2 separate regions of the Homo sapiens genome follow, and region 2 is linked to region 1. Evidence: promoter capture Hi-C in 16 types of primary human blood cells and fetal thymus (Javierre and others, 2016). All regions are on one chromosome and are shown on one strand. Each heading gives the region's core, a stretch centred on a gene start or on the middle of the fragment in contact. The rest is flanking DNA. Distances are from core to core; before and after follow the strand shown.

Evidence for each region. The method cuts DNA at HindIII sites, captures the fragments that hold promoters and counts their contacts. A CHiCAGO score of 5 or more calls a contact.
Region 2: a fragment that was not itself captured here is called in contact with the fragment with the promoter of ZNF397 in region 1 in 2 of 17 cell types (total CD8 T cells and non-activated CD4 T cells); the score reaches 6.8 in total CD8 T cells.

Annotation. Positions count from the first base shown.
Region 1 is chr18:35,239,085-35,243,433 of GRCh38, forward strand. It overlaps ZNF397 (zinc finger protein 397), which reads left to right and starts at 1,950. Exons shown (of 4, transcript NM_001135178.3): 1 at 1,950-2,025; 2 at 3,307-3,800; 3 at 4,068-4,209. The coding sequence starts at 3,387. RefSeq lists enhancers at 1,632-1,741, 1,687-2,212 and a silencer at 2,002-2,131. The HindIII fragment of the contact is 1,449 bases long and covers 1,084-2,532 here.
Region 2 is chr18:59,135,375-59,139,810 of GRCh38, forward strand. No RefSeq gene overlaps it. Among named protein-coding and RNA genes, the nearest start is that of SEC11C, 2.3 kb to the right of the region's middle. RefSeq lists silencers at 3,940-3,989, 4,410-4,436 and enhancers at 4,100-4,189, 4,270-4,369. The HindIII fragment of the contact is 1,471 bases long and covers 2,127-3,597 here.

The DNA.
Region 1 (4,349 bases), core at 700-3,199:
ACTGCAGCCAAAAGCATTTCAACTGATATGCCTTCTCTCTTTCAATAGTTTCACTCTTACATAGTAGGTTTCTCAATATAACAAGGTGTGTTAGGTTGGATGCAAAGATAACTGCCAAAATTTCCTCCTATGATCAAGCTGCTTAATGTCTATTTCCCTTTTCCACCATTCTAGTCCTTCTGTCATGGAATACTGCAGAAAAATATAATGCCAGTTCCAGACTCAGGCTTTAAGAGAATTAGCATCTTTCCTCCTCCTTAACTCTCTTGGAAGCCAGTCACCATGTAAGAAAGCTTAGGCTAAACTCCTGAATGGAGAGAGGCCTTGTGGAGAAGAATCAAGTAACTTCAACCAAGAGGCAACACCAAGACTTCAGCAATTTGAGTGAAGCCATCTTGGACCTTCCACCCCAGTTAAGTGAAGATAGCTGACACATCATAAAGCAGACTAGCCATCTCCGCTAAGCCCTTCCTGAATTCCTGGCAACAGAACTGTGAGCAATAAAACATCTGCTGTTTTTAGTCACTAAGTCTTGAAGTGGTTCATTATGAAGCAATTGATAATTTATAAACAAATTAATATTATTTGGTTTTTTGCTTTGTAAAATTGCTGTAGTCATTTCACAATGATAAAATTATTTAGTGAGTCACTAATAGCTTTGAATGCTAACGAACATTTTTCTCAAATATGTGTTTTAAGTCTTGGCTCACAAAGGAGAATTTGTTTCTATGTATGTATGTATCGCTTTGTTATTATCCTGTGTACTTTTTTAATATAACATTTTAAAAATATGTAACATTTAAACATGTAAAATGTAACGTTTTAAAAATAAATACAAATAAATGGGAAACGATTTGCAACAAACGAGTTGCTATCCTTAATAAGCAAAAAATTCTCACAAATAAAAAAGAAAAATCTTACTCCCTTAATTTTTTAAATGGGAAAAGCCATCTCTGAAGAACCATAAATGGTCAGTAAACATGAAGGGGGACTATCTTAAGCTCACAAAGTTGAAACATGAGGCATCATTTTTCACCGACTAAATAGCCAAAGAAAAATTTAAACAGTGAGACAATACCAGCAAGCTTCCACTGAAGAACGGGAAGACCCTAAGATAGGCTCCAGGAGTCTACGATACCAGTCTCCTTGAACTATGGGGACGTGGACGTCCCTGGTCACAAGTTGCCTGACTTTGGGCGATGTCTACGGCTGTAAATTTGGGATTATATAGCCACAGCACAGAACTGTTGTAAGGCTCCAGTGATACTCATAGGCAAAAGCAATATAAGTGACTGTTAGTTTTTGTTCAGCCTATTCATCCTTACATTTACTTTTGTCGGAAAAGAACTGGAATCACAGGAAAATCTGAGGTTTTTTTTTTTTTTTTTTTTTTGAGACAGAGTCTCGCTCTGTCGCCCAGGCTGGAGTGCAGCACATCTCAGTTCACTGCAAGCTCCGCCTCCCGGGTTCACGCCATTCTCCTGCCTCAGCCTCCCGAGTAGCTGGAACTACAGGCGCCCGCCAACATGCCCAGCTAAATTTTTGTATTTTTAGTAGAGACGGGGTTTCACCGTGTTAGCCAGGATGGTCTCTATCTCCTGACCTCGTGATCCGCCCGCCTCGGCCACCGCGCCCGGCCGAAAATCTGAATATTTTAATGGAAAACTGGGAGTGAGATTCGGGAATTACTTGAGACCAACAATGATGGGTGGTGCCAGGAGAAAGCCAGGGTGGGAACGGCCCAGGCGAGATGCGGGACCCTCCAGGTGCCGCCGCTCACAAGGACCCCTGACTCCTAGCGCACCCTCCCCTGGCCTTGGAGATTCCGCCGGGCTAGCGGCTACCGGGAGAAGGCGGTGGAAACTGTAGAGCCCGCGGCTCTGATTGGCTACCTCAGAGCAAGGGGCGGGGCGGCGGAGGACCCGAAGGGCGCGAGAGCGGAACACTGCGTACGCGCACTTCCGGTCTTTGTGGCTTGCAGCTCGGGGTGGGTGGCTCATTTCCTGGCCGCTCCTGGGCTTCGCGGTGAGGGACGTGGGCCCCTAGGAAGAGGGAGGTGGGGTTGGGAGCGCGCGCCGGACAGTGGAGGAGCTCCGCTCCTCGGCCTGCCCATCCCCAGGTCGCGGCCCTTTGGCCCGCGCGGCGTCTCCAAGCGACTGGGGAACTCAGAGGAGGCCAGCACTCAAACTCCTGCTTTCCAAAGGAAAACGCAGTTCCGCTGACCCCGTGACTTCGTAAATGCTGCGGTTTAACCAAGGATATAAAAATAGAAGGGCTAGTTAGTTAGTTAGTTAGTGCGGCCGGACTGGTTAAACCTTAAATTTGTAGGCTAAATATTTTAATTCATCTCTTAACGTTAACCGTAGTGTGAGGAATGAATTTTACTCATCTGTCCTGACAAACTAAGGGCATACATTCCTATCGATATCTCGCCATCCTAAAAGCAGGTCAAGTTTGGTCTGTGTCACAACATTTAATACCTATTTGTTACCATATTTTGCTTTTGAACATTTTTAGTCTTGGGATATTCTAAGCTTTTTCAGAACTGATACGGATCTCTTTGCTGCTTTTGTGTATGTGATACCTATCATGTTTTTGAACACATGGTAAGCATTTTACAGATACGTCTTGGTTCTTGGTCAATTCCTCTGTAGACTCGTTTATTCATAAGCAAAAATCTTAATGCTCAGTAAGTGCCTCAGTGTTTGTTGAAGTAATTCGGTAAACACCAAATGCGATCAAATGACAAATATCCAATATTTACATCAACTCATGTTTAATGTGAACTTTTAAAAAAACGTTATTACTGCCTTAAATGAAAATCAACATTACTTGCTTTAGATAGAAAGTAAGTAAAAATAAATGTTTAAAATCAGTATTACTAAATTCTGCCTAAATATTTTTACTCTTGGAAGTCTGATTCTGAAGCCTGTATTTTATTTAAAAGAGAGTTCTACAAGTTTTATTAATACATACATGTTAAAGATAGACTTTTCTCCTTGATACAATCAGAATTGAAAGAATTGGAAAGGAAATTTTCTCACTATGTGATTGATGTTAATGTTGCATTCACATTCTTAGGCTTCTAAAATAGTTTTTTCTAACATTAGTGGTAGGAATTCTTCATAATGGGAGACACTAATTGAGGTTAATGATTTTTAGTTTATCATCACATTATTGTTTTATTTAGTGATAGCCCCAAATCTACTCCCTTTCAATATATTACTAAAGTTACTCATCTTTCTTATTACAAGTACTTAGAGATTTTATTGATTGCTGTAAGTTAACTGCTTTTATATCCTTCAGGAAAGAAGAGATTACTCACACTCCTTCGCAAGCACAGAACCAGTTGTACTGAGCTTTTTGCTAAGCTGTTTCAGCCAAGAATGGCTGTGGAATCTGGAGTGATTTCAACCCTGATACCTCAGGATCCTCCGGAACAAGAACTAATACTAGTGAAAGTAGAAGATAACTTTTCCTGGGATGAGAAATTTAAGCAGAATGGGAGTACTCAATCCTGCCAAGAATTGTTTCGTCAGCAATTCAGAAAATTTTGCTACCAGGAGACACCTGGGCCCCGGGAGGCTCTGAGCCGACTCCAGGAACTTTGCTATCAGTGGCTAATGCCAGAGTTGCACACAAAGGAGCAGATCTTAGAACTGCTGGTACTGGAGCAGTTCCTGAGCATTCTGCCTGAGGAGCTGCAGATCTGGGTTCAGCAACATAATCCAGAAAGCGGCGAGGAAGCTGTGACCCTGTTGGAGGATTTAGAGAGGGAGTTTGATGACCCAGGGCAGCAGGTGGGAACGGAGAAAAGTGATGTGGGAAAAGGAATTTACAGCCTGGAGCATGTAATGGTATCATAACAGTAGGATAAAAATTTTTATGTCTCTACTGAACCCTAACCTGAAGTGACTAATAGAGCCATACTTGTCTATACCCTTGAATGGTCTTTTTCCCCTGTCCTTCATCCCTGGAGATGTCATCATTGACCTCTTTGAGATTTTTACTAAGCAAGTTTTCTTAGGGATTTTCTCACAAAGCTAACCATATTTTACTGATTTCAGGTCCCAGCTAGTCCACAGGGACCAGCAGTGCCATGGAAGGATTTAACATGTCTCAGAGCATCCCAAGAGTCAACAGACATCCACCTCCAGCCCTTAAAGACACAGCTGAAATCCTGGAAACCATGCCTTTCCCCTAAAAGTGGTGAGGAATGGGAAATCATCTGGAAACTCTTGACACTTAGGCCTCTGTTTTTGAGAATGCAGAATTAATTGCACTTGACAAACTTGCCACATGTGAGCATCACCTTTATTATTCTAAACCAGAGGTGCTCGCTTTAGCGG
Region 2 (4,436 bases), core at 1,612-4,111, about 24 Mb after region 1:
GGAGAGCGTACTTTCCTCGCTGTGGCCCTTGGGCTGGTGCTGGCTTCCATCTTAGTGGTGGTAGCCTGTCTCTGTTTCATGTGGTCCTCAGTGGCCTCCCTGTCCTTCACATCCTATTTTCTGATGACTGTCACTGGGTTCACTGCAAATGGGTTCATGGTTTTCCAAAGGTAAAACAAACATGAGAACAGCTCAGTAGTTAGAGGACCTGATGAGTGTTAAAATATAAGTTTACAACACGTCTCTCCGGTCAGGAAAGCACCAGGTGTATGTGAGTTACACTAAGAACAAGCTACACCTGCCATTAGAATGTCTGTAATACATGCAGAGAGATGGTAAAGACTTCAGCTATGAACCCGAATGGTGGTGATCACTGTGCTTGCTGATCATTGGTAGTAATTAATGATGATGATGATCATGTCTAACATTTAATGAGCACTATGTGTCACACACTATTCTATGTGCCTTACATATAAAAATGACTCTTCATAACCTACTCCTGTGAGGTAGGTGTAACCACTATCACTATAAAAAGAGGCACAGAAAGGTAAGATAACTTACTCAGGGCTGCACAGCTAGTAAGTTTTAGAACCTGGATTGGTACCCAAGACTGTCTTTTGCTAGAGCTTAGGCTCTAAACCTCTCTGCTAAGCTATTATTCCAGTATACAAACTGCATGTTATGGGTTGAATTGTGTCCTCCAAGAAGACATTTTCAAGTCCTAACACCTGGTACCTGTGACTGTGACCTTATTTGGATACAGGGTCTTTTATTGCAGATGTAATCAAGTTACAATGAGGTCACATTAGAGTAGGGTGGGTTCTAACAAATATGACCATTAACCTTAGAAGAGAAGAGGAAAGACACAGACACAGAGTGAAGACATGGGAAGATGGAGGCAGAGACTGGAGTTATGCTGTAGAAGCCGACGAATGCCTGGGGCTACCAGAATCTGGAAGAGGCAAGCAAAGATCCTTCCTTAGAGAATTTGGGGGAAGCAGGTCTCAGCAAAACCTCCAGAATGTCAGAAAACAAATTTCCGTTGTTTTAAGCCACCTGACTTTGGCATTTTGTTATGGCAGCCCAAAGAAACAAATCCAGCGCGTATCATTCACAAAAGTGGGGAAGACATCTTCACAGGGCCCATGCTCCAGTGGTTCTGTGCAGGCCAATGTGGTTTATACCTCCATTTACAGGGGCTGATTCTCTCCATGACATATGCTTGCATCTAACATTTATAAAATTTACAGTCTACAAAACATTTTTACTTATCCTACCTGTGATTGTCATAACCATCAGGGCAGATACTACCAACAGTTGAAAAACTTTTTAAAACTAGACTTTATTTTTATTATTTATTTATTTATATTTCAATAATTTTTGGGATACGGATGGTTTTTGGTTACATGAATGAGTTCTTTAGTGGTGAATTCTGAGATCTTAGTGTACTCATCACCTGAGCACTATATGCTGTATCCAAAATGTTTAGGCATTATTTTTTTGGAGTAGTTTTAGGTTTACAGCAAAAATGAGTGGAAAGTATAGAGATATACCCATCTACTCCTGCCCCCACACATGCACAGCCTCCTCCACTATCAACTTCCCCTGCCAGAGTAGTACATTTGTTACAATTGGTGAATCTACACTGACACATCCTTATCACCCAAAGTCCACGGGTTACATCAGGGTTCACTTTGGGGTTGTACAGTCTATGTTTTGACAAATATATAATGATATGTACTCATCATTATAGTATCATACTCTCCCCCCTACCCCCGGCAACCACTGATCATTTTACTGTCTCCATAGTCTTGCCTCTAGAGTTCACGGGAAGGAGTACTTCACTGGGGAAGAGGCCACCAGTGACAGAACAAATGAAGTGAACATTCTAGTTCTCTTAATTACTTATGTCCTGGATTAAGAAAAAAATATTAATAGTAGCCATAATTCCTCCTACTGGTTCTGAGAGTCTATTTTGAGTCAGATGGGAGGTTTTTTTTGCATATTATTAATACCTCACTTGACTCTCACAACATCTCTTGCCTTTTTCAGTATGCCATGTAGTTGGGATCATACAGTATGTTGCCATTTCAGATAGACTTCTTTCACTTAGTAATATGCAGTTAAGCTTCCCTCCTGTCTTTTCATGGCTTGATATTACATTTCTTTTTTGCACTGAATAGCATTTTATTGTCTGGATATCCTGCAGTTTATTTATCCATTCACCCACTAAAGGACATCTTGGTTGCTTCCAAGTGTTGACAATTATGAATAAAGATGCTAAAAACATCCGTGTACGGGTTTTTGTGTGGACATCCGTTTTCAAGCTGGTATTTGGGTAAATACCAAGGAGTGCAATTGCTGCATCATATGGTGAGAGGATGCTTAGTTTTGGAAGAAATTGCCAAACTGTCTTCCAAAGTGGCTGTAACAAATACGGTTTTTATTTGGTGGATGAGCAAAGGGTTCATGGAGGTGAATAAATTAGTCTAAGACTGGACAATATGCAGGGACTTCTACCCAATGTCTTCCTGTGTTGCTTCTCACCCAATGCTCAACCTAAGCAGGAGCCTGGAGGCTGGGCCAAAGGTTCTGATGTGAAGATATCACACTGGGTTCTAGGTTTATTGGTCACATTTTGGACCCTTACTCTATTCCCACAAACCTGTTCCACCCACAGCTTTCCTCATTGAAGTTGAGGGGAACTCTACCCTTCTAGTTCCATAGGTTAAAAACCCTGGAGTCAGCCTCAATCTCTTTTCTTCTTTCACGCCCTATATTTATTCTTTCAAAAAATCCTGAAGACTCTTTCTTCAAAATGTATCCAGATTCTGAACCTTTAGTGCTGCCACCTTAGTTCCAGCAATTATTAGTGGCAGGGTTAACTATCACCATATCTTCCTATGTACTAAGCACTGTGTCTTGCACTTATAATTTTATACATCTGATATTTGGAAGAATTTTACACAGACTAGCTTCTGGATCTGTACATTTCAAACCTTGTTTTTCCTCTCCATCCACTTATTTCCAAGGTCAAGTGCTGCAGAACACTTTCATATCAGATGCCACTTCCAGTGGGACTTCCTGCCACGGTGCCAGGTGAGTTGGCCCAGTGGATGGCAGTATTCCCAGAAGCCATTTTTTACACGAGGATGGCAGGAAAGACCATGAACCACATAAATAAATTCACTAAACTCAAACCAAATGTATCTCCAACTCGTTTCCTCCTTAGCTGGATCCCCAAAATTCTCCTTGTCCCTCCAACAGGAGGGGAAATGTAATGGAGGTGAAGTTGGAATGCAAAGAAACAGAACTCTTAACCAATAGCAATTGCAATATCTTGCTTTTGAAAGTTTTACACATTCTATGGTTAAGTTTCTCCCACACCTTGGAAAAACACCTTTGCAATTGAAGGGTCCCAGAACTTACCTTTCATTAGCTTCATGGTAAGTCAGCTTCTGGTATATTTTAAATTGCAACCTGATCCTTTCCCCCAGACCTCCCCATTCAACTTATCTGCTTTTCCTGTTGTCATAGCACCTCCATCCTTTAGGTACCGTATAAATTATCCATTATGTCTGCCTTCGGTAGAATATAAGCTTCATGAGGGCAAGAATCTTTGCTTGTTTTGTTAACTGATGTTTCTCAAGTGCCTAGAACAAGGCCAGGTGCATGGTAGGTGCTCCATAAAGATTTGTGGATAAATAAATACAATAAAGAATGCATAATGCATACACGAGTGAGTGAATGAACCAAAGGTAATCTAGGATCAGAACTGTGATGATCTAGGACTTCTAAATTTAAAACTTTGAGTTATATTCCACTCATTTCCACTTAACCTTGGCCATGTCAATGAACCTTTCTGGGCCTTTGCTTTCTCGTGTATGAAATTAGGTGGTTATGTATTCATTTAATTAATATCTATTGCAACCCAATTATGGTCAAGGCATTCAAAGATACTTCCTTGCATACAAGTGGTACCACTCAAAATGCAGAATTCAGCGGCCTCAAAAGTCCCGCCTCTTCCAAGCCCCGCCCACCGCAGTCCATCTTTAGGCCCCGCCCCAATTCGGCTCAGCCCGCCCCAGCGTAGAGGCACCACCTTTCCTCGCTGCAGTCATCCAATAGCCAAGATACACGGCTAGGTGATTTGCGAGCGGGAGTTAGGTGTCCTCTTGGCGCCTGACCAGAGTCGGGAAATTCAGCTCCTCTTGAGTAGTCCCTTCCCCGAGTTGCCCCCCGAGGTATGCGGGGTCACTCGCTGCTCGATGTTCCCTCCGAAGGGTCGGACAAGGCTCCGGAGCCCTGTAGCTGCCCTCCCTAGGAGCCCCGGGTCTTCACTGGCCGAGGTGCCCACCCCGCAGCATTCTGGGAGTGGTAGTTTTCTTCCTTCAGGTTCATTCCTGGCTGGCCAGTGCCCAAGACTGGCGAGACTA